Regions from separate parts of the Homo sapiens genome. Here all the other regions are linked to region 1. The links are contacts of gene promoters, found by promoter capture Hi-C in blood cells and fetal thymus (Javierre and others, 2016). All regions are on one chromosome and are shown on one strand. The core of a region is centred on a gene start or on the middle of the fragment in contact, and the rest is flanking DNA. Distances in the headings are between cores, read along the strand shown.

What was found. The method cuts DNA at HindIII sites, captures the fragments that hold promoters and counts their contacts. A CHiCAGO score of 5 or more calls a contact.
Region 2: a fragment that was not itself captured here is called in contact with the fragment with the promoter of MAST4-AS1 in region 1 in 1 of 17 cell types (naive CD8 T cells); the score reaches 5.6 in naive CD8 T cells.
Region 3: a contact is called between a fragment that was not itself captured here and the fragment with the promoter of MAST4-AS1 in region 1, in 2 of 17 cell types (activated CD4 T cells and non-activated CD4 T cells). The highest score is 9.5, in activated CD4 T cells.
Region 4: a fragment that was not itself captured here is called in contact with the fragment with the promoter of MAST4-AS1 in region 1 in 1 of 17 cell types (activated CD4 T cells); the score reaches 5.4 in activated CD4 T cells.
Region 5: a contact is called between the fragment with the promoter of TRIM23 here and the fragment with the promoter of MAST4-AS1 in region 1, in 1 of 17 cell types (total CD8 T cells). The highest score is 6.4, in total CD8 T cells.
Region 6: a contact is called between a fragment that was not itself captured here and the fragment with the promoter of MAST4-AS1 in region 1, in 3 of 17 cell types (non-activated CD4 T cells, naive CD4 T cells and naive CD8 T cells). The highest score is 6.8, in non-activated CD4 T cells.
Region 7: a fragment that was not itself captured here is called in contact with the fragment with the promoter of MAST4-AS1 in region 1 in 6 of 17 cell types (naive CD8 T cells, naive CD4 T cells, naive B cells and 3 more); the score reaches 8.6 in naive CD8 T cells.

The regions. Positions count from the first base shown.
Region 1 is chr5:67,001,668-67,005,845 of GRCh38, reverse strand. It overlaps MAST4-AS1 (MAST4 antisense RNA 1), which reads left to right and starts at 1,692. Exons shown (of 2, transcript NR_111908.1): 1 at 1,692-2,002; 2 at 3,797-4,178. All of the region lies in intron 4 of MAST4 (microtubule associated serine/threonine kinase family member 4), which reads right to left. RefSeq lists a silencer at 1,475-1,814. The HindIII fragment of the contact is 7,419 bases long and covers 1-4,178 here.
Region 2 is chr5:68,456,444-68,460,621 of GRCh38, reverse strand. The region is part of intron 3 of LOC105379013 (a long non-coding RNA gene); the gene reads left to right. Among named protein-coding and RNA genes, the nearest start is that of PIK3R1, 240 kb to the right of the region's middle. The HindIII fragment of the contact is 1,381 bases long and covers 1,496-2,876 here.
Region 3 is chr5:68,432,735-68,436,912 of GRCh38, reverse strand. LOC105379013 (a long non-coding RNA gene) reads left to right here. Exons shown (of 5, transcript XR_007058804.1): 4 at 3,328-3,444. Among named protein-coding and RNA genes, the nearest start is that of PIK3R1, 220 kb to the right of the region's middle. RefSeq lists enhancers at 1,952-2,011, 2,397-2,691, 2,382-2,721, 2,000-3,199. The HindIII fragment of the contact is 1,971 bases long and covers 1,462-3,432 here.
Region 4 is chr5:68,415,311-68,419,488 of GRCh38, reverse strand. No RefSeq gene overlaps it. Among named protein-coding and RNA genes, the nearest start is that of PIK3R1, 200 kb to the right of the region's middle. The HindIII fragment of the contact is 4,501 bases long and covers 1-4,178 here.
Region 5 is chr5:65,622,044-65,626,221 of GRCh38, reverse strand. It overlaps TRIM23 (tripartite motif containing 23), which reads left to right and starts at 1,889. Exons shown (of 11, transcript NM_001656.4): 1 at 1,889-2,028. The coding sequence starts at 1,948. It overlaps TRAPPC13 (trafficking protein particle complex subunit 13), which reads right to left and starts at 1,195. Exons shown (of 13, transcript NM_024941.4): 1 at 1,116-1,195. The coding sequence starts at 1,161. SHLD3 (shieldin complex subunit 3) reads right to left here and starts at 1,195. Exons shown (of 2, transcript NM_001365341.2): 1 at 1,116-1,195. RefSeq lists enhancers at 1,680-1,759, 1,890-2,219. The HindIII fragment of the contact is 4,327 bases long and covers 140-4,178 here.
Region 6 is chr5:68,267,469-68,271,646 of GRCh38, reverse strand. The region is part of intron 2 of PIK3R1 (phosphoinositide-3-kinase regulatory subunit 1); the gene reads right to left. Among named protein-coding and RNA genes, the nearest start is that of PIK3R1, 54 kb to the right of the region's middle. The HindIII fragment of the contact is 451 bases long and covers 1,875-2,325 here.
Region 7 is chr5:68,245,312-68,249,489 of GRCh38, reverse strand. The region is part of intron 2 of PIK3R1 (phosphoinositide-3-kinase regulatory subunit 1); the gene reads right to left. Among named protein-coding and RNA genes, the nearest start is that of PIK3R1, 32 kb to the right of the region's middle. The HindIII fragment of the contact is 6,788 bases long and covers 1-4,178 here.

The DNA.
Region 1 (4,178 bases), core at 443-2,942:
TGTGCCCCTCTAAAAGTACAACAATCTTACTTTTCTGTGCTGGACACAAATGTGGTGAGAAATGCCTCCTTCAAAGTCATAGTCTCTCAACACAAGTGTCAGCAAACTCTTGGAACTGCCTGTCACTTGTGGCATGAGCTTCATCTTGACATTAAAATTCTTTTTCTTTCCCCATCTTTTCTATCAAATATACGTTACAAAATGAAAAGGACACTCCTGTATTAGTAATAAATGCCAGCAAACCATTGAAAAATCAAAATGACAAAGTTATGTAGATCTGCCTCTCCACAGATAGTATGAAATAGCTAACCTGGGCTATCCTTGCATCGTACATCTGCATCTTATAAAGGTCAAATATTTAATAGAGAGGAACATCTGAAGGGCTCAACGAAAAGTACCAGAAGCCTCAATGACTGGGTGAATGAAATGGATAAACATGATCAGGTCAAAGGGACAGACTTAGACAAAGTATCTCCTCCTCTTTCCCTTTTTCTCCCCCACCTCTCACAAGGAAATGTCTTATTATCCACATTTCAAAAGGAGAAAACCTATGAGAAGCACATTTATCAGGGTTACCCAGGAAACCACAAGGACGAAGAAATACCTGAAACAGTACCCCCTCCCCTAGCGGGGCATAAACTTTTCAAAGTGTCACCCAATACACAAAACCCCAGCTCCTGAGGGGCTCAGGCAGCTCCGCCTGTGGGCCCCTGGGAAGTGAAAGCATTCCCTCTCCAGGCAGAGATCCCCGCGTTTTTACCTTTGTGTTCGCCGAAGCCTGTTCCCACTCCTCAAATGAGGCAAAGTAAAGTTTGAGAGCACAGTCCAAAAATTGGGGTCAGACATATCCATTTCTTTCTCTCTTCAATTCACTGTGGGTTCAAGGCCATATGACTAAAATGGGGAGAGGTAAAAAAAAGGAAGAAAGACAAGGCCAAAAATAAAAAAAAAATCCCAATTATCTACTCACTCCCTCCAGAGAAAATGTGATGGGAACTGTGATCTCAAGAACAACTTGGAGCATGTCTGAGAAGTACCCGTCCCGTCCTAGCCTTTAATTAACACACAGCCTCCTCTCAAAGGTCCGGGAAACTGATTTCCTCTCGGGTCTGCCCTCTCCTAGTCAGGCTCGGCCAGCTATAAACAGTAATTACATGAGTTGAGCCGTGCGTTCTGCTCAAAGCGCTGTCTGTGGGATTCAGTCGGAGGTACTTTGTCATCTGTTTGGCAGATACCACTCGCCGCTTCTGCGAGGGGCGGGGGAGACGACTATTTTGAGGCTTTGGTTCCGGAGGCTGTTGCTTATCAGCAAAACCATTCACATCCGAACATGCCCAGTGCCGAGTTTCCTTTTGGTATCTACATACAAGGAAAAGAATTTGAATAGAAAAAGCTGCTCTTGCCCTCCCCTCCTGAAAAAAGCGGAAACTTAAAAGCACTTTTAAAAAATGGGCCTATTGGAGGACTTGAACCTGACACCTTTGTGGACCCTTCCAGGGTCCGGCTGGGAGGAGGCGGCAGGGCCTTGTCCCTGGACAGCTTGGTGGCCGCGCCCCCAGCTTTCCTGCATCCCCCACCCCCCACCAGCCCCGGCCGCGCCTGAGGAGCGGGGGCTCACGGGAAAGGGAGCAGGCGGCCGCGGCGCGACCCCAGCCGGTGCCGGGACAGCCCCGCAGCCTGGGCCGCCGCTCCCCCTCCCCGGAGCCCGGAATGGATCCGTCCCGGAAATAAATAAATAAACCCGCGGCTGCTCCGGGTGTGTGCTGCGCGCACCTGAGGCCGACCTGTGATTCACCGCGGGAGGGATGGCAGTGACAACGCTCCGGGGAAGTCCACAGTGACTCCTCCGCCAGGACGCCGCTGGTTGTATAGGAAAAGCACGCGGACGGGAAGCCACACTCACCGAAAACCTCAGTAAACTAAATTTATGAGTTTACATCTGTTCCATCAATGACCACGGTGCACACCTGTTTGGCTTCATGGCCGGCAACTACAGATCTAGGTAATGGTGAGCCCCGATGTGGAAAGACACTACCTGGCATTTATGTGGCAAATGCTACAAGTATTGCCCCTTCAAGTACGTTAGACCTTGAAAGGGCAGAATGAAGGGGGCTGAATGTTCTTGTTATTCATTTTGAAGAAAGGCATGGTATTTAAATATCTCCCCCTATCCATGAATGTTTGTATAAAGTACATAAAGAAAAAATATAATTTAAATTAGCTGCCTTAAGTCTGGTGTAATATGGCAAGAAATACTAAATCAAAAAAGTATATATTCAGCAAAAAATACATCTAAAAATGGCTTAGTCCATGCAGTAAATACCAGGAACAAACTCGCTTACAAAAATGGGAGGATAAAGAGAAGGAAGAGGGGGTGTAAGCTGACAAGGTAGGCGGGGTAAACAAAAAGAAGCCTGCTGTGGGATCTTCTTTATCTAATTCTTGTGGCCCACATTAATATTTTCACACCAAGGACTCCAAGAGTTTTGGATGATGTTTCATGTCCAAGGCTTTCGTATGCGTTATCTCCTCACATTCTTACAGAGCCTCCACAGATCCTTGCAACCCACAGAGGTAGACAAAGAAGGCATTATTTTCTCAATTTTACATTTGGGACTTTATCCCAAACATTCAGGGACACTAAATGACAAAACACACTTCAATAGATATTAATGAGCTTGGTCCAGCATTTTTGCCCCATGCTCTTCTTTTAAAAAATGTTTCTAAGTATTGCAAAAGATGTTTTGAAGGCTGACACAAAAGAGTGTCCCTGTGCTCCGGAGCAGTTTCTAGACCTCAGCACTGTTGACATAGGCTGGATAATTCTTTGTCTGAGGAGCTTTCTTGAGCATTGGAGGATGTTTAGCAACATTGCTGACCTCGACCTACTAGATGCCAGTGCTGACAATTAAAAATGTCTGAGGACATTGCCAAATGTCCCTTGGGAGGTAAAATCACCCCTGGTTGGGAACCACTGCTCCAGATAAAGGCTTCTCTGAGAGGGGTGATACAGAGCACTGGTTTAGAGCAAAAATTTTGGGTCTGAATTCTGGATACAACACTTACTATGACCTTAAATCTCTTCTCATTTTCCCCAGCTGCAATATGGGGTCCATAATAGGACCAACCTGTAAGAGGCTGATATACATAAATGAAGAGGAGATGGCATACATAAGCCCTTTCACGCAATGTCTACACACACACTGCGCATAAATGTAGGCAGTATACAGAAGCTAAGAGAATACTATGCTGACAGACATAAGACTGGAGCAGAGGACACCCCACAATGTGCTTCTTTCTACTCTCTAGAGTCTTCAACCAGGCTGCTGATCACACTGTGTATAATTGACTGTTTACTGCTGTCTTTCCAATTAGTCTGAGTTCCTCAAGGCTAAAGTCACATTTTACTGATCTTCATATTTTCAGAACCTGACAGCTCCTCAGTTTATATAGGCATTTAATATTAGTAAATCCTTTTTGAATGGATACTTCAGAAGCCCAAGTATCTCTTATTTCTCTTAAGATGCACTGAAACTATTAGTACTAGTAGATCTGTATTCTCAAAGAATACTGAATTTTTGAGAATCCCATGAAGACGGTAAATTCTGAAGACTTTCTCTTAGTGACTTATTTGTATCTATATCATGTAGCTGGAAAGATATCAGTGCTAACATTCCTCAGGTCTTTACATGGCTCTAAGAAATGTCACAATCAAACTCAAGGGGAATTCCCTTTGAGTCCCATGTCCCCTCCTCAAAGGCAAGCCCAGAGAATAACTTTTTGTGCTCACTTGTAGGTATCCAAGATCAAGAGGGACAATTACATATTATAAGCCGCACAGAGAAGAGTAATCAAGGTGGACATGAACTTGTGCTATATAAGTTATGGGTTGAAGAACTCTGTGGAAAGTAGAGAAGAAAAAATTTAGGGAACAAGCAGTAGTTGAATACAGCTATGTGAAACTATGAGAACTATGTGAAAGAGTGTTTGGATCCAAAGATGAAAGAGCTGACACAAGAGTGGATTTTCTGAGAGCTGTTTGAGCAGAGAAAACTTGAAGGAGATACAGTGAGTAGAACACAACCTGTAGGTGGTTTGAAGACCTGAGGACTCCAATACCTCCCAACTCTCATATTCTCTATAGTTTTTCTAGAAAAGCCCATGTATTGGGGCATAAC
Region 2 (4,178 bases), core at 937-3,436, 1.5 Mb before region 1:
TGGACACTATTAAGCTGAATATCAGGGATTTGTAACCAAGCCCCAGCCTTATCCCAAAGGAACTGGAAAAGTTCCCAGCCATGGTGGTCCTTATATTCTTTATCTGTAAAATTAGGTCTAGATGAAGTCTAACATTTTTATTTGCTTCACAGCATGGTTCATTACATAACAAAATATTATGTTGCACACTAAGTCACAACATTAAATATAATAAGAGAATTTTGCAAATATCCTCTTCCTGGATTCTTACACGGTGGAGGAAGTTGCCTGTAGAGGGCACTAGTCAGTTAATAACATCTGAATCAGTTTGACTTAAAAGCAAGAAAGGACCTTAGGGGTCACATAGTGGATCCCTCTCTTACAGAGAAGAAACTGAGCCCTAGTGAGATTAGGCGACTTGCTCAGAATCACACAGTTGGCATTTTCACAGAGCTGAGATGGAAAAAAGAACTCTGGTTCATGTTAAAAAACAAAAACCAAACCCAAAAACCTTACAAAGGCCTAGAAATTGAATTGCATTTAGTTGTTCTTTTAATGAATCACCCACCGTGAAAAATAATAAAAAGATTACCACCACCATAAAAAAGGAGACCATCCTAGGAAGCCTACTCTTCAGGACACTAGGAGACAATTAATTCCAGTGTCACTCCCAGCCACAGGGTTATTCAGTGAAATTCCCTTGGCCCATAACCATTTTGTTGATAACCTTTGCTGTCTAAACATCCCTTTGCCAAATTTACACGGCACTCAGATTGCACTGGGGGACAGGATGGTATATAAGAGAGGGGACGGACTTGTTTTTCTTCCTCTCAGCCCCATCAACAGCAGTTAAGTGTCAACCAATGGATTGGATCTACTTCATTCACTGGTTAAAATTAGGCAAACAACTGGACTGGCAATGAGGCTCCCTGAGGCTGGTGTCTGGTTATTTCAGTCACCTTACAATCAGATTAGATCTATCCACCTTGCAAGATTGCCCCTTCCTTGCCAACATACTAGAAACCAGTTTATCTGTTCAAATACTGCATATGGACCCAGACTCTGTAAAACCATGACTAGGATGTTTGATGTGTTATCTTAGGGTTTTTCTGTTTGTTGCTGTTTTGAGAAATAGACATGTAGGTGGTAACATGCTGCAGTAGAACCATCGACTTTGGAGCCCACTAGACAAGGCTTAAATTCTGCCTCCACTTGTGTGTCAGCTGGGTCTCCTCACTGTATTGCTTGACTCTGAGTATCAGATTTCTCATCACGGTATTTACCTTACAGACTGAGGATTAAAGGAGAAAGTTCATATGAAGTGCCTAGATCAGCACCTGGCACTGTACAAATGAGTCTCCCACTTGAAGAATATGGCTGGCTTTCAGAATTAGGAGAGAGTAAGCAGTAGAATTCCACCATGTAATGAATTCAAGGTCATGGCTATTGAAGGAAGGTATTGTCTTTAAAACGTCCCATGAAAAATAGCTTAGATAAACATTCTAGTAGATAAGCTTCAGAAAAGTAATTTTTAACCTACTCCAAACTAATGCCATGGTGTTCTCATTGTTCCTCTACTTTTATAAACAGTGGCATTACTAAATTACAGCCTAAATTCCCCCATGCATTTTAGTGGTGATCCAAGAGCATGCTCAGTTAAAAACATGGGTGGAAGGATTTAGGAGAGTTAGCCACCTCTCCCTACACAATATTTCTAGGGTGCAGAGACAACACTTCTGCTTCCTTTTAAACCCAGTATTTGCTTAGTTTTCAGAAAGAATGAGGCAGTCCCCAAAGGCATGTTGGTCTAAGCATAGAAGCACCATAGTGATGGCATGTTTTCCTAGTTTTACACAGTTGATTTATACCCACTGAGTGCATAGTATGTCTAGGGCACTGGTCATGTATTATTTCATTCAAACTCTACCACAACTTGATGAAGGAGTCACTATTATCAACTTCCATATATTGATGGAGAGGCTGAGGTTTGGAGAAAGTATGTTGCTCACCCAGGTCATGCAGGTGTCAGTGTGGTGAAGCCAGGATGGAGCCCAGCAGCAACATCCGAGCCCCTCCTTCTTCCTGCTGCCTCTTTAGTCTCTTTTTTTTTTTTTTTGTATTTTATTGGCTTTTCTGAATGTGGTAATAACGGGCAAAAGGGCAGGGGCAAAAAATCAAGGAACTTAAGGAATTCACTGAGATCTAAAACGTATTTATATCCACACAGTCTACGTTAACATGATTTTACTATTCCAGGATCTTCATCAGCATAACTTTACTGTTCCAGAAAACTCTTCCTCAAGAAGATAACAGTTACAAATAACTGTATTGTTCATTCCAGGAATTTCCCCAAAGACACATCAACTCGTCAATAGAAAGCATTCAAGGAAAATTTTAAAATTTGAGCATTTCCGAGTCTTTGCCCTCAAAATCTTCATCTTGTGTTTGCCCATTCTAAGTGATTAGATTATGGTCCTCACTAGACCCCAGCCAGGGCTCCCTGGCTCTCACACTAAAAGATACACATTGGAAAAAATCCAGACTTCACAATCTCAAAAATACTCCCAACTTTGCTCCATCCCCTACCTGCACCCCGAGACTCTAGTGAGATTTTTTGTAAATAGTGTTCTCCATTAACTTTAAGCCATCAGTTCTCAACTGGGGATGATTTTGCCTCCCAGGGGATATTTGGCCATGTCTGGCAACATTTCTGGTTGTCATGACTGGGGCTGCTCCTGGCATCTAGAGGGTAGAAGTCAGGAATGCTGCTAAACATCCTATAATGCACAGGACAGCCTCCTCCCCTAATAAAGACTGTCCAGAATCAACAGATTATTTTAATAATATTTTGGAGAGCCACTAATTAGCAATATCTCAGTTAGTGCTACGAAGAAGCTTCCCAAACTCTGAACCCTTCTGGTTATGTTTTTACTCTCTTGATTGCCAGTGTTCTTGCAGGTTCATGAGCCCCAAATCCATGAAGCCCGTCCTTAAGAAATTTCATTCCCAGAGGCTAGACTGCAGACATTTACCTACTCTTCTTATGATGGGGGTTTCCATCTCCTAAGATAGGATCACTTGGTGGCTCGGTTATTTTTTTTAAGACAGGGTCTTGCTCTGTTGCCCAGGCTGGAATGCAGTGGCGCAATCACGGCTCACTGCAGCCTTGGCCTCCCGGGTGTCAGGCGATTCTCCTACCTCAGCCTCCCGAGTAGCTGGGATTGCAGATGTGAGCCACCGCACCTGGCCAAGTTATCTTTAATTTCTACATTGTGTATTGTGTATCAGCTGTTTGAAATGATGAACCTGAGTCCACAATTTTTTTAGAAGATGCTGTTAACTATCTTAATAATGGCAGCATTCCTGAGGTTGTGAAAATGACTTTACTGAACAGGAAGCATGTTTTCCTTATAGACAAATAGCACGAATTCATATTACTTATAAAAGATACTGCCTCTTGAAATTAGCACTTTGAATTTCACCTTTTCGTCTAGATATTTCCACTGGTAACAAAATTTCCCTGGAAGTCAGTGTTTGGAGTTATAAGATCAATTTGTGACCCAAAAATATAAACGGTCTACCTTTTATCCTGTTTGTGATGAGTGAAAGGCAAAAGTAAACAGAAAAAAGAAACCTGATATGACTTCACTCTTGAAATATTGTGCAATGATTTTCTGAAGGTAAGTAGCAGGCTTTGTATCTTGAGAACCTAACGAAGTTAAACAGCAGTCCTCACTCTGGGCACAGAAGTCACAGCTTACAGTACTGGAATGAGGCCCAGGATGATGTCATCCTGGGCAGAGACCTTATCCGTAACCCCACAGTGCATTTGTATTAGGCAGTGATGTCTCTGTCACCAGGAACTTCACTGAGCCTTCCTGAAGCTCTCAAGCATGTCATAGAAATATTGTCCATCTCAAAATTTGCCCTAGAAAGGAACCAGGAAGTTTTCCTTTTTGAAAGTTCTTGAGATGATATATGTCTTGAGTCTTGTGGGGATTCATTCAAATCCCTGGAGCTGGCATAAAGATTTTTGAAGTGAGAACATTTGAGCTAAAGAAGATACAGAAAAAAGTGTTATCTCGACTGCACTTACCTGACTAAAGCAGGGCCTCCCGAAAATACTGCTGCCATTAACCCCCATCTGAGGGGGTTTCCTGGAATTTCGCTGCCAGGGAGACAGAGTGTCCATTGCTATT
Region 3 (4,178 bases), core at 1,198-3,697, 1.4 Mb before region 1:
CTATCAGATCTCATTAACCCTCTCCCATTCCATTATCCAGGCACTGCCTCCTTACCTGCCTTGATTATCTCGGCTAGCTGCCAGGGTTGATAAGAAATCTGTCCCAAAATGGCAGAGGGCTAACAGATTAAGGGGTTCCCTCTCAGGGACTTAGCCCTTCGGGTGGGCTGTCTCACAGTTCCCAATTCTTCCAGAGCCAAAGGAAAGCCACAGAAGCATGAAATGTCAGGAAGATTAGACAGACATTTCTGGGCCACAAGCCTGTGTGATGCTTTTCAGATCAAAACCCAGGTCGTGCCTGCTATGTTTGTAGGAAGGAGGGAGTCTGGGTGGGAAATTAGAGAAAGTACAGCACCCTCTGTCCTGAAGAACCTTTCATCCCTGAACTCAGAGGTGTAAGCTGCCCTTCTGAAACACAAATCCTTATCTACTCTCATTTTCCAAATGTTTTGTGTTTCTATATGAAAATCTTTAGATTTGCTGAACCATTGGGCCCCAAAAATATGGCCCAGGTCACTCAAACCTATATATTTTCTTCCTATGATTTTCCTCAGGGCAATTCATGTCGTCACAGGTGGCCCCACCCCCCAAAGCCTTCACCTGAAGGTATTGCAAGCCAACTTTCCAGTTATTTGTTAAAAATAAAATGATCCTTAAAGGATGTGATGGTCAGCCAAGATACTAGAGTTGTTAGCTTTCATCGGACAAAAGGACTTTCAGTGTCAGCTCTGCTTATTTCATTTAGCTTGGATGGCGACCTACATCTCTCAGCATGAAAGGCCCAAAGCGATGTTTCAGGAAGAATAATCCAAAGAACTACGGGTATCAAACTCCCTGGGAACTTGTTAGCATACCAATCCTGGGCTGAGAATATGATTTTAAGGGGATTGATGCTTTAGAATTTCTGGACTAAAGGTTGCTGTTTCTCTTGAAGTGGCAACTCCATTTGAGTGGCAGGTTATCCTGTCTGTCATTACCTGGAGAATTATACAGAAATCTTCTGCATAGCAAGAAGTCCCACCACACTCAGGGCATTGGGGAAATAGGGTGGTGGCAAGCCTATGTTCAGTTAGGGGGATCCCTGCCCTGTGCTGCCGGAGGAAGTGCCCTGTGCTGCAATGAGGAAGTTCACTGCTGTCTTTCTCAGGAACTCAGACCAACATGAAAATAGGACTCCTGAACTTAGAGCCTATGTTTTGTCCACAAGATTATCCAATCTGCAACAAGCACCAGAACTTGTCTGAGATCCTGAAATCCAGAGAGCCTAGCCAGCTGGGCATATACCAAGCTCTAGCATAGGAGAGAGGCCAGCTACTCAGCCAGGGCACATGGCCCTGGGGCAGCCTGGCCCTGGACAGGTGGAGCCAACCTCTCCAAGAACTTTCCAACACTCCACCATTCTCTGTTTACCCCAGAGGCATATTAGGCTGACTGAGACATCCTTGAGAACACAGGGAAGCTTCAACTACCTATGACTGAAATCATGATCATCATCATCATCTAGTTCTAAACAAAATCATCCTAGGAGGCAGCATGCCCTTGTACAAATTTCAAATCTGATACAAATAGCTGTGTGGCGTTAGGCAGATTCCCTCTCTGTACTTACGGTTCCTCATCTATAAAACAGAGTTAATAAAAGAACCCTAATCCCAGCACTTTGGGAGGCTGAGGCGGGCAAATCACGAGGTCAAGAGATTGAGACCATCCTGGCCAACGTGGTGAAACTCTATCTCTACTGAAAATACAAAAATTAGCTGGGCATGCTGGTGCGCACCTGAAGTTCCCAGCTACTCGGGAGGCTGAGGTAGGAGAATCGCTCAAACCCAGGAGGCGGAGGTTGCAGTGAGCCGAGATCGTGCCACTGCACTCCAGCCTGGTGACAGAGTGAGACTCTGTCTCAAAAAAAAAAGAATCCGTCTCTTAGGTTCGTTGTAAGAATTAAATGAGACAATGTGTACCAAATTCTTAACAGAGTCTGGAATATAATAAGTGTTCTGTAGACAGGGCCACAGCTAGCATGCAGGGTGTCTTTGTGGTAATTGGAAAAGGGTGTGCTCATTTGGGTAGACACATTAGAAAAAGATGTCCCTTCCTCTGGGCTGGCTCAGGCTGGTGCCTGACTTGGGAAGCAGAGTTCCTCCCTCGGCTGGCCACCCTTTGGCTGGTCACAACCCACAAAACTGAAGGTGGAGGCCCTGTCCGTACATGTTTGCTATGGTAAGTACCAACAGTTCTTGCAGACGGACAACTGTGTGCGCTCTCACTGTGGAGGCCCCCTTGGAGGAGGTAGCTGACTCTCACTTCTCAGAACCACAGTGCTAGGCTCAGCAGAGTCTCATCTTGATAAACTTCTGTGAGAACAAAGGCATGGGGACACACTGAATTTTCCTTTTCTGAGCTTGAAACCAGCTGATCATGCTTCCTGTTTCTCTAAGGGCTTCCCTGACATAGACGACTTGCTTCTTTCAAATTTGGTCATCGCCCTCTTGCCTTCCTGTGTGAGTCAGCGTGGCTGCCCTTGTGCACGCCAGGCTCCTGTCTGTGCTCCGGGGCCTGTTTCCTGGCCTCCCCAGGTAATTCCCCTCGGCCAAGGGTGAGCGTCCCCGCCCACGTCCCCTCTGCCTGGAGACGTGCGTGCGCTGGGGACATGAGTCACAGCAGCCCGCCCGTCCTCTGCATCTGAAACTATTATTGGAATGCCTCTGCGCACAGCACATGCCTGCTTCCCAGATTTCACAGGCCCCTGCTCAGGGATCTGCAAACCACATTGCTCAGCCCGAGATTCCACGCGGGTGATCACGAGGTGGTTTGCTCTAAGCTGGAACTTTTCTAAGAAAGTAGGTTTCTTTAAGCCAGGCATTCTGCATTCTTCAAAAAGCGTCAACCACATGTCTCCAGCGAGCGCCTAGCAATGTGCCTGCCTTAATGGGTAATGCAAAATAAATCGTTCTGGAGCTCTGAGAAGGACACAGTAAAAAGAAGAGCAAAAATGAGCATCTCAAATAAGAGATGTGGCAGGACAGATCCTTATGGGCCTGGAGAGTTAAACCCACAAAAAGAAAGGGAAGAAAGAGGCAGAAGATCGGGAGGAGGACCATGAGAAAGAACCAACAGAGGCAAACAACTTGAACAAAGATGCAGAGGGAGAATGTGTCGGACTTGTTTACAGGAACCTAAACACGGAACCAAATTTGAATTTTGAAGATCCTTCTCTTTTTCTCTTGCTAGGATGATTAATAGCCTCTAGTGTGAGAGAATTTGTTGTTGTGAGGTGATAAAACTGCTTTGAATGCTATAAGGTATACAACTCTTGTCTCCCTTTTACAGATGAGGAAACTGAGGCACAAAAAGGTGAAGTCCTGAGCTCACAGTCATGCAACCAGCAGGTGGTGAAACACACCTCCAAGCTGCCTGCCTCCTAAGCATCAAGCTTTGTGGCCCAGGGTGAGAACAGATTTTTGTTTTTCCAGGTGGATATTTGAAAGGGAGGAGCTAAGGTTAGTTCACTGATCCTTCTTCCTTCTCTGAACTCCTGATGCAGATTTCCCTTCTTCCATGCTAGATCTTGGTGTATGTCCAGGTGACTAGGATCTCAGGATCTCAGGCAAGTTCTGGTGCTTGCTGCAGGTTGGATAATCTTGTGGACAAAACAGGCTCTAAGTTCAGGAGTCTTATTTTTATGTTGGTCTGAGTTCCTGAGAGAGACAGCAATTAATTTCCTCATTTTCCCTATTTGACATGGACACGAGAACATGAGACTAACAAAGAAACAACCTTTTGCTAGACCATTTTCAGATCCTATGAAAGAAAATGATAAAGAGAAAAGTAGCTCCTGGGGCAAAGTGGAAGCAGATCCTGGAAGAAGTTGCAGGTGGGCTTATGTCAGAGGCGCCCTAGCAGTAGGTGTGCGAAAAGAGAGCAAGGGAAAGATGGGAAGTCCCTCCTCAAGCAGCAAACGCATGTGGCATCCCAGCATGGCTGGAAGCCACCTCTATCACTTCCTTCCGCCAGTGACAATGAAACGGAAAGGGAGCTTGTGACTCACTTCACCTGGCAAGGTGGTGCTGGAACAGGACACTTCCGTGAATCAAGGCTGATTGATCTTATTCTATTTCTAGACACATATCTTACCCAGAGTGCCTCTCCTTCTGAAAGAGTGGCCACCTCATAAAAGTGAA
Region 4 (4,178 bases), core at 787-3,286, 1.4 Mb before region 1:
GTTAGTATATCTTTGTGTAATCATCCATATCAGTGCTATGGCAACATAGTGAGATCCTGTCTCTATAAAAATTTTTTTAAAAAATAGTCAGATGTGGTGGTACATGCCTGTACTTAGGAGGCTGAGGTGGGAGGATCACTTGAGCCCAAGAGGATGAGGCTGCAGTGAGCTGTGATTGTGCTGCTGCACTCCAGCCTGGGTGACAGATTGAGGGCGGTGGGTGGGGGAAGAGGGGAGTTAAGCAATTTGCTTCATACCAAATTGCGTTCTGTAATTTTAGGTTTGTATGCAAGGAACAGAAAAATCCAAAATTAACAATCTTAAACAAAATAGCTCAAGAAAAATGAGTGGGTTTCTCTCGTGTAAAAGAGTGGAAAAAAGCAGCACTGGGTGGGTAAGGGGGATCTGCTCCTGGAAATCCTCAGAAAATAGTTCACCGTGCTGTTACCTGTATAGTGTGGCCTCATTATCATAGTCCAAGGTGGCATCTGTTTCCAGGCAGCAGGAGGGGTGAAATGTTGAAAAGGCAAAGAGCATATGTCAGCCAACTCTCATATGAGGGTCCCAGAAGTTGCTCTAACATTTTTGCTTACTTCTCATTGACCAGGACTTAGTCACATGACTACACTTAGCTACAAGGGAGGCAGGGTAACGTGGCAACATGGTCTTTATTTAGGACAATCTTGTGTCTGCTGAAAATTCTATTACCAGAAAAGGTGAAAATGAATAGTAGAGGACAACTGGCAGGCTCTGCCACAATTTTTTAAAAAAATAAATTTTGGGGGGCGTTTGGTGGAATGAAGACTATGTATTTCTAAGAAGCAAACCAAAGATTTGTCCCTAAAGTACACATCATTACCTGTCCAGATACAAACACACGAATTTATATATATGTAAATACTTGAGCAATAGAATTATATTTTAAGTCAAGTAGACAGAGTAAAGAGTTTATTGGGAACATTTTTAAGCTATTTCTATAAATAGGAATGACTTGTCCTGGAATGTTTCCTTCAGGATTGCAATAATCTTCTGAGCCATTAAGTTAGTCAATGACCTTGAGCAGCTCAGCTAGGCACCAGATGATGAAATCTCTGATATCTCTGGGGTCCCGGTTGGCAGAATCATTTCAACTTAGTGCTAGGGAACAATGGCCCATGGACTAGCAAGTCTGCATATTCCCTCATAGAAGAGTAATCTATTGCGGGAGACTTTGACACCTAAGTTTCGGCAAGCTGTGGGGAAAGTATGAATACATGTGTGTTGGTACTTGTGCAGACTGGAAATCTGTCTTCAGGAATTAAATGAAGCACTGCATGAAATAAGGCACTTAATAGAAATTTCTGGTGCCTTTGTCGGCAAACCTATCCCTTGGGTGATGGTCTCTATCCAACAGAAATCAAAATAAACTTTTGGGTTTTCAGGTTAACTTTTTTAAAGGGGCATAAAACATTTTTATTTAATTTTGTTCTTTTCTCTTTTCTGTATCAAACAAGAAATGATTTTTTTTTTTTTTTTTTCCACCAGAGGTATTAAAATGCTGCAAGGGAGCAGCCTCTGGCTTGACCAGAAACACATAAACTTGAAACTGTGAATGTTGGTTTGCACATATGTTAAGTTAAAAGTAATGATATATTTTCAAAAGTCATTACATTTTTTAAAAAAACTTTGTTAGCTAAAGCAGAAAAGTAAAATTCAATTAGGAGCACACCTTAGCAAAAAAAAAAAAAAAAAAAAAAAAATCTTTTTACCTATGATGATCACATGCTTTTATAAGGGTCATCTCTCCACAGTCCCATAATCCCATTATAAGAGCCCTCTACAGTACATTTCTGAATGCCAAAAAGTTATTTTATTAACTGTGCTTAGACGAATCTATTAACAAGGTCCAATAGTCCCAGGCAAAACAACAAACTAGGAAGATGTTGTGCAAACATGGATGTGTTCTCTAATGTGTAGAATTTCTGTGATAGTTTTGGCTTTGTAATTTTGTACATTACTACAAGCAGTTCTGGACATGAAACAATTACCTTGTAATTGAGCTCCGCTACTCAGTTTCTATGTCTGAATTTGCATTTATGTTCCTATCCCTTTAGCATTACTGAAGACCAAACGGCATCATAGCATGATGAGTAGAAGCAGCATTCACAATTTAAATGAGGAAACTGAATAGTGAAGAAATTGAATACCCTCAGCAATTGGCAGCCCAGTCATGCCTTGTTCAAAGACTCAGTCACAGTGGTCAGCATCAAGACCCTGTGGCTAGCAAACATGTTAGTGGGCACCCATCTTTGTACTCCAGCACATCGAGCAGTTCATAAGGGGGCAGTACAGGTAGTTACAAAAAGACAGTGGAAAACTCCTTATTCAGTGGAATTCAATGGGTTTTTTCCTGCTAGTATTGCATTTTGAAACACAGTTTTAAGTGGCCCATGAACCTAATTGGTTTAAAATGAGTTAATTTTTTAAAGAAAAATAACAATAATGTCTTAAATAATGCCTTATCAAAAGCAAAAGAATCAAGTCCAAAAAATGAGACATAAAGCATGCAAATGCATTTGTCTTATTAAATCAATCTAGATGACTCTGTTTCAGTAAAACAGAACCATCCTTATTAAATTACTTTTGCTAATTTGAATTTATAGTTTTTATAGCTTATTTCTTTGGGATTTAGAGTTGTACTACAGGTGTGTACATGTGTTCAGTACCTATAAGCATTTTCGTAATTAAGTAAAATGATAAAACACTGAAAATCCTGAAATGTCAAATTTTTCCTTTAAAAAGAGACCATACAAATAGTTTGCAAAACACAGACCAAAAGGGTAATTTTCAGTGTCTCCTTTGTCTACATTTCAGCATCATTTCCCACCAGGACTTTCAGACCCACCTGCTTCCCTCCCACAATTCCTCCCACAATTGTTAAGGAGCCCCACAGCTGAGCCCAACCAGCCTGAGCCTCACCTAACTCAAAGTCACCCTTTCTGAGTAGGAGACAGACTTTAACCCTAATGAGCACTGGTGAAATGTCAGAAGGTTAGTTTAATAAACAAGGTACAATAAATGAAGAACATTAATTTATATTCAACACCAGAAAGCAGAGATGAAGCAGGTGTCAGTCGGCCGAGGGCCAATCCTATAGAGTGATCATTTAATACATTGAATTGGAAATGTCATTGTAGCAACTGGGGCACATAAGAAGGGTTCTTTTGAAAGTTTCCAATAATCAAATTTAATGTGGCCTATTATAATTTTGAGTCTTTCTTAAGGCTCACAAATTAAATTTGTTATCCATTTGTGTATATATTTTACTATCAAACAGCTTTTCATTTTCCTTGACTTTAATGGGCCCATTCTCCTCTCATTCTTTGGCTATACCCATTCCTGCCTTTATTGTCCCCAAAGCCCATTACCTCTATATGTGTACACTTAAACTCATACACACACACAGGCACACACAGTCCTTGGGGAAAGAAGGTGTTGATAAAGTGTATAAAATACTTGGGAGCAACAAGAAGCAGAAAAAAACTGAAGTCAAGGTGAGAGAAAAATTAAATGCATTTTATTTTCTTTGGATACCAAGCAGAAATTTTTTAATTACATATTTTAATTCATGACTTTGCTTTTCTCCTTCTGGAACACAGATGTGGTTGTTGAGCAGCTTTCTCTTCTGTCTCACCTTATTAACATCCTGAAATAATACAACCTTCAGCCAACCGCTGGACTGCCTGAATTGTCTTTTTTGCTGGAGATCTTGAGTCTTACAGGTTATGAATTGCAGAGCCAACATGAGAGGACACTTCCTTTTTCCCGCCCTCGCAGGAAGTTGTTACACACTGACACTGGGAAGGCTGATTTATATCAGTCCCCTGGGGAAGGATGCTTAGTTGACAAAGACAAGTAGAACAAACAGAATTTGGCCCGTGACTTGGTACTGTCTGAGTTTTGTAGTGAGGAAAACAGAGCATTCATTTGTGTACCTTCAAAGACATTCTCAAGACACACTATCCCTTAAATTTGCAAGCAAGTAATTTGTATTATCAAAGGCTTTCTGAGGAGTGATCTACAGAGTAACCTTTGGGGATGTTAAGGCAACCAGGGCCAGGCTGGATTTTTCAGAGGGCACATGGTTTCCTCAGCACTTTATCAAAGTCTGTCAGGATATGGGCAAACCTCCCCTGATA
Region 5 (4,178 bases), core at 640-3,139, 1.4 Mb after region 1:
ATTTACTCCACATACTTGAAGTGAGATTGTGAGATAAAGAACACGACAATTAGTTGCTTTTCTTCTTTTCCCTCTTCTCCACGAGTAACAATCCATTTTAATCTCCATTTTAGTCTAGATCATTTGCTCAGGTTAAGCTTACAGGTCCCATCACTGTATCACTAAACATTACAAAGTTCCACAGTAAGAGACAATCTCGCTAACACAGGCATCATTATATGAGACTGATGAGCTTCTAGAAAGTCTGATGACTACATCATAATGGGAAGGATAAGGCGTTCCTCAAAATGGATGCCATAAGTAAAGTAAGCGCAATTCAATTGAACCCGAATGTTTATTGAGCATTTCCTCAGCTCATTCAAGAAGTCATTGTTAACCATATATTAAGGCATCCAAGAAACAAAAAGCGCATTTGTTGTAGTAAAAAACAAATAAAATAAAGCTGAAAAGATTTCAAATAAAAGGTTTCCAGAAAATAGGCATTAAAAAAATTGTCCTAAAAAAAAAAGTGCTGCTGTTTTTTCCTAAATAATGATCTAATTAAATCACCAAACTTACTCAAAATGGCTGTGTACAAAAAATGAGAGTTGACATTAGATCTCGGACATATTTCCCACATACACAGTGATTTGAAGTAAACTGCAGTTTGTTTTGAATAAATCTAAGTTATATGTTGTATTACTATGTATTGCTAAATTCTCTGCACTACTGTCATGCAATACTAATTTTACAGGGGAAGCTGAAGCCTGATTAACTTCGTCAGTGCCACAGGAAGAAACAAGAGACAGAAGGAAAAAGCACTTTGGATGCCCGCTGTAATTCACAGAGATCTCCACGGTAGGAGCGGGACGTCAGCTTCTGCGGCTAAAATCTCGTGACTGAAGCAGCACAGATCAGAAAGAACGATTTACCAGGTATCTATTTCGTTCTAGAAAGGGGCCCATAAACCTAAAAAGCATCCAGGAGAAATCGCTTCCTCCCGCTTGGCGGCAAAGGACAGAGCAGGAGGGCGAGCACTGAGTGTTTAAGAAGGATGAGGCCTACATGGCAAAGGCTTCGATAAGTAGGGAATGCAAGGAAACAGAAAAGGGGGAATCAGGTTCGCAAAAGTTTACCTTTTAGCGCCAGCAGGTGCTCCTGTTTAGGGGGATTCACTTCCATTTTGACCGGCACTTTTGACCCACAGCCTACGGGGGCTGGACAGGTTCAACTTGCCCCGGAAGGAAACGGAAAACCTCGCGTTTGGCAAAACCAAAAGTCAAACGCACTCTCAACCTCTCTCTGGTGGTGGTACCTTAAATTCTCCTACTGTGTCCTTTACAAACTGGCTTCTTTTCAACAAGTCCATTTCTTCTATCTTAGAAACGTAGGCATAAAATACTTTGTTTTCCATCTGCAATCACACATCGCGACTGCAGGAAAAGAAACCACCCCTAGGTAACAATACGCGGCCTCCCAAAGGCCAACGTTGCCGGAGTTTTTTTTTTAAAAAAAAAAAAAAAAAAAAAAAAGAGAGAGAGAGAGAGTGGCATGCTGGGATTTGTAGTTTATACAAAAACCGCGTTGCATGCAGGGAGATGCCCGTACCCCCTCACCGCCCTCAGTTCACGCCCTGGCTGGTTTGGATTCGAGAGGAAAAATCATTAAAGGATCTGGAGTTTTCACCCCAAAACTTTAATCGTTTTGTCCCTTCTTTTTTTTTCTTGTCTTTCCTCCAGCAGCTGCAGACTACATAATGAAAAATAACAAAAGTGCCCATGCGCGAGGCTGTGCAACTAACCACCCGACGATTGCGGGGAGGAGGAGTAAGAGTCGGCTAAGCGGCGCCCAGTGTCCTACTGCGCCTGTGCGCCGGTGGCGTGCGCAGAGGCCTCTGGGTAGGTGGCTCAACCCCGCCTCTCAGTTGAGGACTCTGAAGGCTGTTTCTGTGGCGCTTCCCCTGCGAGGATGGCTACCCTGGTTGTAAACAAGCTCGGAGCGGGAGTAGACAGTGGCCGGCAGGGCAGCCGGGGGACAGCTGTAGTGAAGGTGAGGGACCTTGCGTGCTCTATTCTCCACCATCGGCCTCCCTTCGGTTCATCCTGGAGACCTGGCGGCATCGCCGCGGCCCAGGCTTCGATAGGTGGGATGCGCGGCCTCTGGGCCCCTTTTGGCATTACAAGTCTCGTCCTGTCCTCTGCATCCTTTCTCTCCTATGGCCTGAAATTGCCTGGTCTTCTGCTCATGACATGTCATCATCGGGACATTTGTGAAAAGGAGCTTGCGGGCCAGTGGCAGTGACCTAGACCGGTCTTTTCTCCAGGTCCTCTGCTTTTAGTTAAACTCAACAGACATTAATTAGCTTAGTATTATAAATTGAGTCATCATCATCGTAACTACGTACTAAGTTAGGTGTTTTAGCTCGTTAATATCTACTTATGAAGTAGATGTGAATTCCCATTTTACAGGGAGGAAACCCAGGTTTAGGTAAACAGTGTGTGGCAGAGCCCCGGGTTGACCGGCTTTAAAGTCTGTACTTTTCGCTCTTGTACTGCGTCTGTAATCAGACATCTGTTATTGGGTGAGCTGCCCCCTCCCCTGTTAGTAGTACAGTCTATTAACTCTTTGCACAAGTCTGCAGCATCGTCATAGCTGGGCATTAACGATAGAGTTTATGAATTTTCTTATGCTTGAAGTTTGAGATTCTACCATGTATACATGCTCCAGAATCAATTTGCTAAAAAATCATTTGAAATATGTGGCACTCATTTTTCCCTTCCACTGTTGTGCACGGAAAGATATGGAGGGGAGAACTGATCCCATTGGTTTATAGAGTAACCTTCAGGAGCATCTCTAATCTAAGAGATTGATAATTCTCATTCCTGGCTACATATTAGGATCACTGAGGAGTTTTAGTACACTACTGATGCACTCCTCCTCCAGTTCTGATGAGGTTGACATCAGTATATTTTAGGAATTACCAGAAGTTATTTTAATGTGCAACCAGGGTTATGAATTACTGATCAAGGTAATATATGAAGTTTTTTTCACATCTTGAAAAGTAGACACCTATGATTATTCAGGTAATGTTGGTTTTATATGACAGCAAATGAGACATTTCTTCCCACAATTTAGTATCAGTGAATATTGGTGGTTGTTGATTCAGATGACCTTTAGGTACTAATGAAGTTATTCTACAGGTACACGGCATATCTGATATGCAAAGGAGCCCTCATTATTAGGCATGTTGTGTGACTGAGATTTTATTTATTGAATTGTGCTTTTGCTAAGTAGAGAATACTTGAAGAGCAGTTTGTGAATTAACTTGAAGTTTAAGTTTTATTTCATAATTGGAATGGGTATCATTGCAGTATCTATTTTTTTGTTACCCTGTTTGCCTTACAGTCTCAAAAGTGTACCAAAGCCTGATGTAACTCCAGTTTCTTACAGCACAGAATTTGATACATTGGAGGCTCACCTTGTTCATTTTCATCTTAACATGTAAAATATTCCTGAACTGTGCAATGAAATAGTCCTTTCTGACAAAATCTTCATGCCATAATTTGTAGTAGGTATAGTAGCATAAACTAAAAAAATCTCACTGTCATTTCTATAGATGAAAGCAAGAAGTATTTATTGGAAGGTAAAAGTTGAAGTATATAATGCTAATACTGTGTAAAATGGCCTTTTGCTTGTGAACAAGTTGATAATGACATGGCTTTTATCATTAGAGAAAACAGTAACATAAAAATCTGATATTGTGGCTAGGCGCGGTGGCACACGCCTGTAAAGCACAAAGTGCCTGGGAAGCACTTTGGGAGGCCAAAGTGGGCGGATCACTTGAGGTCAGGAGTTTGAGACTAGCCTGGCCAACATGGCGAAACCCCGTCTCTACTAATAATACAAAACGTAGCCAGGCATTGTGGTGTGGGCCTGTTAATCCCAGTTACTCAGGAGGCTGAGGTAGGAGAATCACTTGAACCCAGGAGGCGGAGGTTGCAGTGAGCTGAGTTTGTGCCACTGCATTCCAGCCTGGGTGACAGAGTGAGACTCCATCTGAAAAATAAAAGATAAAAAATCTGATATTGTGAAATAACTGACATTTAAAAATGTATCACAGAAAGTTTCACACCTTTAATCTCAGCACTTTGGGAGGCTGAGGTGGGAGGATTGCTTGAGCCCCAGAGTTTGAGACCAGC
Region 6 (4,178 bases), core at 851-3,350, 1.3 Mb before region 1:
ACTAGCCACAGCGGTTATTGAGTAAAATGCAGCCATTCCCAGTGAAGAACTGAATTTTTTATTTTAACTGATTTAAATGGAAACAACCATAGGTGGCTAGTGCCCATAAAATTAGAGAGTATAGTCTTACTTGCCTGCACAAGGGCAAATTTTGTCAATGGCAGATGAAAGATTCCCGAGTCAGCTTTGTGTTAGAGATCCCACTCTAAAGCTATCCCTGAAGACAAGGCATCTTAACATAGAGCTAATCAATATTTGAACTCAAAGCCCTGCAATGTTTACCACTCGATTTCCTGAGTGACTTTGTCCTACTGCAACATCACTGTAACACATCTTAGGTTTCATAGAAGCACAAACGACTGGCCATTAACTTTCCAGTCACTGTGCAGAGGGCTGGGTGGGAACTTCACCTCTCTCTGGTCTCTCCCACACTTGCCAGAGCTAAGCACCACCTGGAGGACGTGCTAGAAATACTGATTCCCAGGTACCACCCTAAATCTTCAGAATCGGAACATCCAGGAATGGGCTAGTAACCTGTTTGGGGTTAGAAATAAGCTTTAGGACATACTCTTTTGATAAGAAAATTCATGTGGGTGATCCTATGAAAAAATCCAGCAATGACATCTCTCAAATCCCTGTATGTTAAAATGTAAATATATCTGAAAAGCACTTCAAATACAAATGTCTTAAAGGTTTCACAGTCCAATTAAAAGCATTATAAAATTTTAAAAGAAATATTATAAAATGAAAGAGCACACCATTTCATTTCCTCTGATAAATTATAAACCACTTCCCTTTGCCTTAATATCAACTCACAAAAGTATCCTCTCTCACAAACACCTTCTACACTGAATACAATGAAATATCATCCTGTCAGCATATATAATAGAAGGGAAATATAAAGGTAGAGAAATGATGTAGAAAAGTGTTATTTATTAAGATCCATTATTGTGTCACTCCTTAGGCCCCTCAAACTAACAAGACTTAGCACACCCCAAATCTCAAAAAGCTAAAGATTAAATAGTAAATACATATCCATGCAACTCTCATGCAACCAACATGCCAATTCCTCTTCCCCTTTTCTCATAAATTACACAGGCATTTTTTTAATTAAAAAAAACTTTAATGTTGGCTCTGAAAATGGAATTACTTAATAAAGGTTTGTCTCATTCCAGAGTCTTATCAACACAATCATTTCTGCAGGCAAATATGAAAGTCAAATTAAATGATAATTAAAGATTTCATCTAATTGTGATTGAAATATGCACCCAAAAGTTGTTATATTGCTGGGCTGGCAAATGCTCCATACAAAAGGATTTCCAGCTCTTTCTTCATTAAGCTTGAAAAAATTTTTTAAAAAAGCAAAACTTCCTTGCTTTCCTTTGTCTTTTCAATGTTTTTTCGGCAAAAAGTGTTAGTTTACCTGCAGTATCCTGAGCTACAAAACATTATATGTTTTACACATTACTCATTCAGGTGTTGGACCAAGTTTCTGAAAAGCACTGTGCTACACCAAGTCAGGATCTGTGAGAACACTGGAACTTTTCTCAAAAGGCACACCAGATTGCTTTAAAAAGAAAAAAAAATACACATGGGTACTAGGAAGTGTAAGTACTCTTTTTGTAATGTATTGAGTGACTCCCCACTGAATTTGTAATATTGAAAAAAGCTTTATCGCTCAAATGTATGAATCATCATAGCTGATCAGGATTTTGCAACTGGAGTTTAAAATGGTAAATTTTACAGGGATTTTTTTTTTTTTAAATAGCAATTCAAAGATTTTCTATTCCTTAGTACAAAATGTCTGCGAGTCAATCCATTTCCTCTTTAAAATATTTAGACATGGTGAATGTGAAAGTTCTACCCAAAAAGCTTTAAAGTTTATATCATCTACTTCCAACAATAGGATCAATTAGCATTGAAAGTCTAAAAAGTCTTTTAAAACAAAATATTAATTTTTATGACAATCCTAAAATCAACTATGCCTTTAATTTTACTAAATACACAAGGTCAAGAATTACTTTTCCATTAGATTCCACTTTAAGAAATTCCAACAGGAAATGACAATTGCTAGGAATTACCAAATTTGGCAAGGTGTTCTTTGAAAAGTCCACAATAAAGCACCATGTTACAAAGTTTGATAAACCAAAAAATAATAGTACTAAAAACAAAAAGATGCAAATATTATCAATTATATAGGGTGGGGTATGGAGCAAACACAAATTAACAGAGCACCATCCTCCAACAGTTTACATTTAAATTCTCATTACAGTTCAGCTTTTGATTTTTATACCTGAATAAGTAATGGGTTTTGGTTGTGAAGCTTGCTGTAGCACAGTGTATAAGTGTGGAGAACCAACTCCACTCTTAAGAATCTGGGCAAATTTGTTGATTCCTTTACTACAACCCAATCCCAGTTTTTCACTAGCTAAATCATTTTTCATTGAAAGAAATCAGTATTGCTTAGGAAGAAAAGGATAAAGATCAGCAGAAAGGTTTAAAAGTAGTGAATCCAAGACACGCATTATTTCAAAAGAAAGGAGGATTCAGCCTTCAATGTTGACCAGAACACCAATGAACTAGGTGTCCCAGGTTGTAGGAAGAATATTTGATGACACATCCGATGCTGCATTTTCCACTCGTTCTAGTTTTCCCCCTTTGCCCTGGTGACAGCCAATCACATGGAATAGAAAAAGAGCCTTCTCTCCAAACTTCAGCCCTTCCCAAACCACTAACATGGACAGGCCTCGACAGTCCTTGGGCACCAGCGGTGTGTGGGAGACAGTGGCATTCTTTGCATTAAGTGATGCCAACACCGTTATGAAGTGCAAAATGAAACCACCACACAGTTGCACCTTCTGGAGGCATTCACCATAAAAAAAGATATTTTGAAGTTAGTGCCTGGCAGGGCCCACTGGAAAGTTTAAGCTGAAACACTGGGACTCCAGAGGCTGCCCAAGCCAAATATTTCATTACTGATGGAAGCAGTTTGGAAGTGTGTGAAAAACTGCCACTTACCTCTAAAAATGTAATACAAAGAAAAGAAAGTGTATATGCAAAGTGTGGATCAGTATTATATCAAGATGTTTGTCTGCTAACTGCTGCTGAGTCAAAGCTGTTTCTGTCTGAATCTCTCTCAGGACTTCAAGTGAAAAATGTATATTCTGGTGGGCAAATCTAATCCCAATTCTTTTCTTAAATAAACCTTTAAAGCATATTCATACTTTATGCTTGTAATGATTAACACCCTGAACTTTAAACTTATTAAGCTTTACGGGTGACACTACAACAAATGATGGCCTGTGCTCTTTGACTAAGCAAAAACAAAGCAAAAAAAACAACGATGACTTCCTTAATTTTGGGACACATCTGTTTAATCAGTAGTAAAAAAGTGATTAGAAGCAGAGCTTTAAAGCCAAAGAGGCTTAGGTTTTAATCCTTGCTTTGCCACTTACTGAATTCAGTAGTCTTGGGCAAGTTAGTTAACTTGAATCCCATTTATTCATCTGTAAAATGGGAGTAATTATGTGCAGTAATAAGGATTAAATAATATATATATATAAACATGACAGGCATCGTGCCCAGTATGTAGAAAGCACAAACTAATAGGTAGTTATTATTGTTAGAATTAGTCATGTAATCTTTATTATTGTTTAGATTATGGAAATACCCGATTGCAATTGCAGGTTTTAAGACCAGAAATTATCATACTTAGACTGTTCTCAATACTTTTCTAAGGAAGCAAGCTGGAAGCACATTTGCATTTTGCCTTGTATATATTTGCATTTTGCCTTTGTATATATAAACAATACTCAAAATCTTCAGAAGTCAAAACCAAAATATTTTCAATTTATCATACTTTCCCCAAAAGGACCACAATACTAATATATTTGAGATATTAGACTTCAGTTTTCTGAATGTGAAGACAAAATGAAGTTGGAATGACTGTGTGCTAAATTATATTGAGTGTGGCCGAAACAAGAGCTTTTTTTTTTGGAGGAAGAAGGAGAAAAAAAGTATGCGCAACTGAAAATGAGAGTACAAAGAGTAGATGTGGAAATAAATCTTCAGCCATAACTACATTATTTTCAGAGATAACTAGCAGGAGGGAATTAAAAGAGTTGCCGACAGATTTAAACTAGAAGTTTGCAAATCTCCTCAGATATCCTAATTAGTCT
Region 7 (4,178 bases), core at 983-3,482, 1.2 Mb before region 1:
ATAGGACCACTTAGTGCAGGGTAGATAATATGTCCAGGCAGTATTTTAACAACCCCGTACATCTGGTTTTATGGAAATATAATACAAAAAGACCAAGAAGAGATACCATGATATAGAACTGATGGTTGAGAGAGTAAAAATTAAAAAGGGATAAAAGTTGATTGAGTAGAAAAAGCAGAAACAAAAGTTTCACATGCACCTAATTCTACTCTTCTTTGGTGGTTCCAGGAACAAAACCAACTGGAACAGGAAAATGACTCTGAATTTTAAATAATGAGTAAGCATATATTCCTTTTCCTAAAGGAAGAGACAAAAATAGAAGAGAAAGAAGGTATCATTACTGGTAAATGGGTAGGTCTTGACAGAAGGAAATTACACAGCCTGATTATAACAATGCATTTCAACCTCCCTACATAAAATGCTCATGTCTTAAATTCCTTGGTAATATTTATGAAGCTATCTTATTTCCCCTCTATCTCACCTTTTTGAATCACGCTGCAATACTATGTATTAGCCTAACGCTGACATCCATAGCAGTATGCTGGAAAATGCAAACATGTTCACTTCCTTCAGAAAATATCTCTTGGTTTATTATGGCCTCACTCCAACCACTCTTCTGTTTGGTTTTTGCTTTTATTATGCTCTACTCATTTAAATTCATCAATATGTTGCTTTGTAACAGTTTACATTTTTTTTGCACACATATATAGGTGTACTACATAAAAATTGAAACAAATAACATATAGTTCTTCCAATTTCCCTTGTATGACCTCTTTCTTTAGTTGTTACAGTGCTTAGTTCCCAGTGGTGGATAAATAATTTTGCCAAAACAATTGACCAAACATGTCATGCCAACAAAGGGTATCAAATGATTATCTGGGTAGTGCCTTAGAATTCCAAATATGAACAGACGTAAAGAAAAAATAAGGACACTAACAAAACAGTATTGGCTTTATTCATAAATTTGTTAGGATGTCCACCAACACACACAATCACAAATAGATTACTAATCTTTGGTAATCTTAATTTTCTCAAGAATTGAAGGGTGTTTAGATACAGAGGACAATGAGGGGAGGTGGATTTAAGATAATATTAAGAATCAAAAACTGCTATGCTAGTGTTTTATATTTAAATCTAAGTCATCTTAGTAACTGAATTCATATATCTATCCAGATAGTGGGGAAAACACCATTAAAAAGAACATTGTTGGCCAGGCATGGTGGCTCATGCCTGTAATCCCAGCACTCTCGGAGGCCGAGGCAGATGGGTCACTCTTGAGGTCAAGAGTTCAAGACCAGTCTGGCCAACATGGCAAAACCCCATCTCTACTAAAAATACAAAAATTAGCCGGGCTTAGTGGCATGTGCCGGTGGTCCCAGCTGAGGCAGGAGAATTGCTTGAACCCAGGATGCAGAGGTTGCAGTGAATTGAGATCCCGCCACTGCACTCCAGCCTGGGCAGCAGAGCAAGACCCTGTCAAAAAAAAAAAAAGAACATTTTCCCAGTATGGAAATACTTGAGAATTTTCAAAACAAAAAACTGTTTTTGTTTTATCAAATGCACCTTAAGGACATTCAATGACTCTGGGGCAATGATGCCGTTTAGGGCAGTTATCTTTGTATGGTGCCCATGATCTGGAAAAACAGGCCCTGGCACCAAAGGCCAACGTCACCACTGGCCTGTCCCGTTGGGCAGGAAATAATGGATTTCAGAGGCTGGAATGAAGGAAAGCCCAAACTAACAACAGAGTTAGAAAAATGTTTTCAGCCTGTAGTCCCAGCTACACCAGAGGCTGAGGTAGGAGGATCAGGTGACCCCAAGATGTCAAGGCTACAGTGAGCCATGTTGATGCCACTATACTCCAGCCTGAGTGACAGAGGAAGACCCTGTCTCAAGAAAAAAAAAAAAAAAAGGCCACGTGCAGTGGCTCACACCTATAATTTTAGCCCTTTAGGAGGCTGAGGCAGACAGATCACTTGAGACCAGCCTAGGCAACATGGTGAAACCCCATCTCTACAGAAAAATTAGCCAGGCATGGTGGCGCACGCCTGTAGTCCCAGCTACTCAGGAGGCTGAGGCGGGAGGATCAACTGAGCACAGGAGGTTCAGACTGCAGTTAGCCGTGGTGGAAAGAAAGGCAGAAAGACAGAAAGAAAGAAAAAAGAAAAATGTTTTCAAAATCAATCAAGCCTCTAAAATGTGTCCAATTAAAATCCACTGATCTATTAAAATGGAATTCTATCTCAAAAAATATAATTTTAAGAGAGACCATGAGAGCAGCATACCTCCTCTACTCAAAAAACTATTATGACTTAGAGATGAGCCATGATAAATTCAAAGCACAGGGAAAAGTTCCATATCAAATCACATATTTCCAAGCCCCTTATCCAAAAGCACCGCTGAAAGAATTCTATTTCGATCACACTACTAACTACCTGTGAGAACGGCAAACACCTTTTAGTTTTAGTTCTTCCTTTTTACCAATAGGTGGCAAGATTTATTGCTAAGACAATTTAGGCAAAGGATTCAGCTTCAGAAAGACTGCCTTTCCTCTCCCCTCTTAAGGCTCAGCATTTTTTTTTTTCTCTTACTAATGAGCTATTTGACAGTAATCATAAAACCAAAATATTTGTTATTTATTAAGCTACTGCAATTTTGGATTTGTAAAGGAAAAAGAAGTCCTGGAAATCTTTTAAAAAGACACACAACGTGGTGGCAGGCGCCTGCAGTCCCAGCTACTCGGGAGGCTGAGGCAGGAGAATGGCGTGAACCCAGGAGGCGGAGCTTGCAGTGAGCCAAGATCGCACCACTGCACTCCAGCCTGGGCGACAGAGCGAGACTCCGTCTCAAAAAACAAAAAATAAAAAAGACACACATGGACGGGCGCGGTGGCTCACGCCTGTAATCCCAGCACTTTGGGAGGCTGAAGCGGATGGACCGTTTGAGGTCAGGCGTTCCAGACCAGCCTGGCTAACATGGTGAAACCCTGTCTCTACTAAAAATACAAAAATTAGCTGGGCGTGGTGGCGGGCACCGGTAATCTCAGCTACCTGGGGGGCTAAGGCAGGAGAATCGCTTGGGCCCGGGAGGCAGAAGTTGCAGCGAGCCGAGATCGCGCCACTGCACTGCGGCTTGGGCGACGAGTAAAACTCTGTCTCAAAAAAAAAAAAAAAAAATATACACACCAAGTGGACAAAGCAAAAGAGACTCTGCAGGGAAGGGGATGGCTAGGCATAGTTTTGACATTATTATGACTTCCAAATAAGGTATAAAGTATAGAATACACCCATACAGCATACTAAAGACTTTGGAATGGCTCACAACCAAACTTGTACGGTAATGAAGATATATAATGTAAAAAGAATACAGGTGTTTACCAGAAAACATCCTTCAAGGGACAAGACTTATAAATGCAATGGAAACTGTCTCAAGAAACAAAACTTTATTCCAGTGGTCTCTTTGGGGAAACATGTACACAGCTATTCAGCAAATTCACTGTCACCTTCATTGCAACTGAAGAGAATAAATACTCAAGTATGTGTCTTAGAAAGAACTGGTCAGTCCATGCTTACTAACTTATGTAATTCTGCAATAATCTAACTTCATTTCTTCTTTGGACAGCCTCAAAAAAGGTGAAGAAGAGTTCATTACTACTCTCCATAAAACACTGCTTCATATAATTTTCAACTGTTTAAATTGGTCCTTGGTCTTTATTTTCTGTGGCTAAACAATTTCAATTCCTTTCATTTTCGTCAGGTTTAAATGCATTGCTTAAGTCTAAAAAGTAATTTTTTTCATGTTTGTCCCAAATGTATTTTTTAATTTTTATTTTTGAGTGCCTCACTGAAATCCTTGGCTTGGTAGAGGTCATCAATTCTATTTTACAGATGAGAAAACCAAGGTTAAGTATGTTACCGTCTTTAGGTCACACAGCACATTAGTCACAGCAATTAGGACTAACGGTTAGCCAAGGGCATTGTTCAGAACTCTGAGACGTCCAGCCTATTTGCAAGTGCTCCATGTAAGCAAGAACAATGAATGGAAAAGAACAAAAGTGCAATGCTGCATTGGTGATTCTATAACATCAGCAACAAACTCTTTCTCCTATATATCTCCCACATGCTCATAAGGACCCAAACAGCATATTTAAAACTCAACTATTTTTTTTTAAAAAAAAA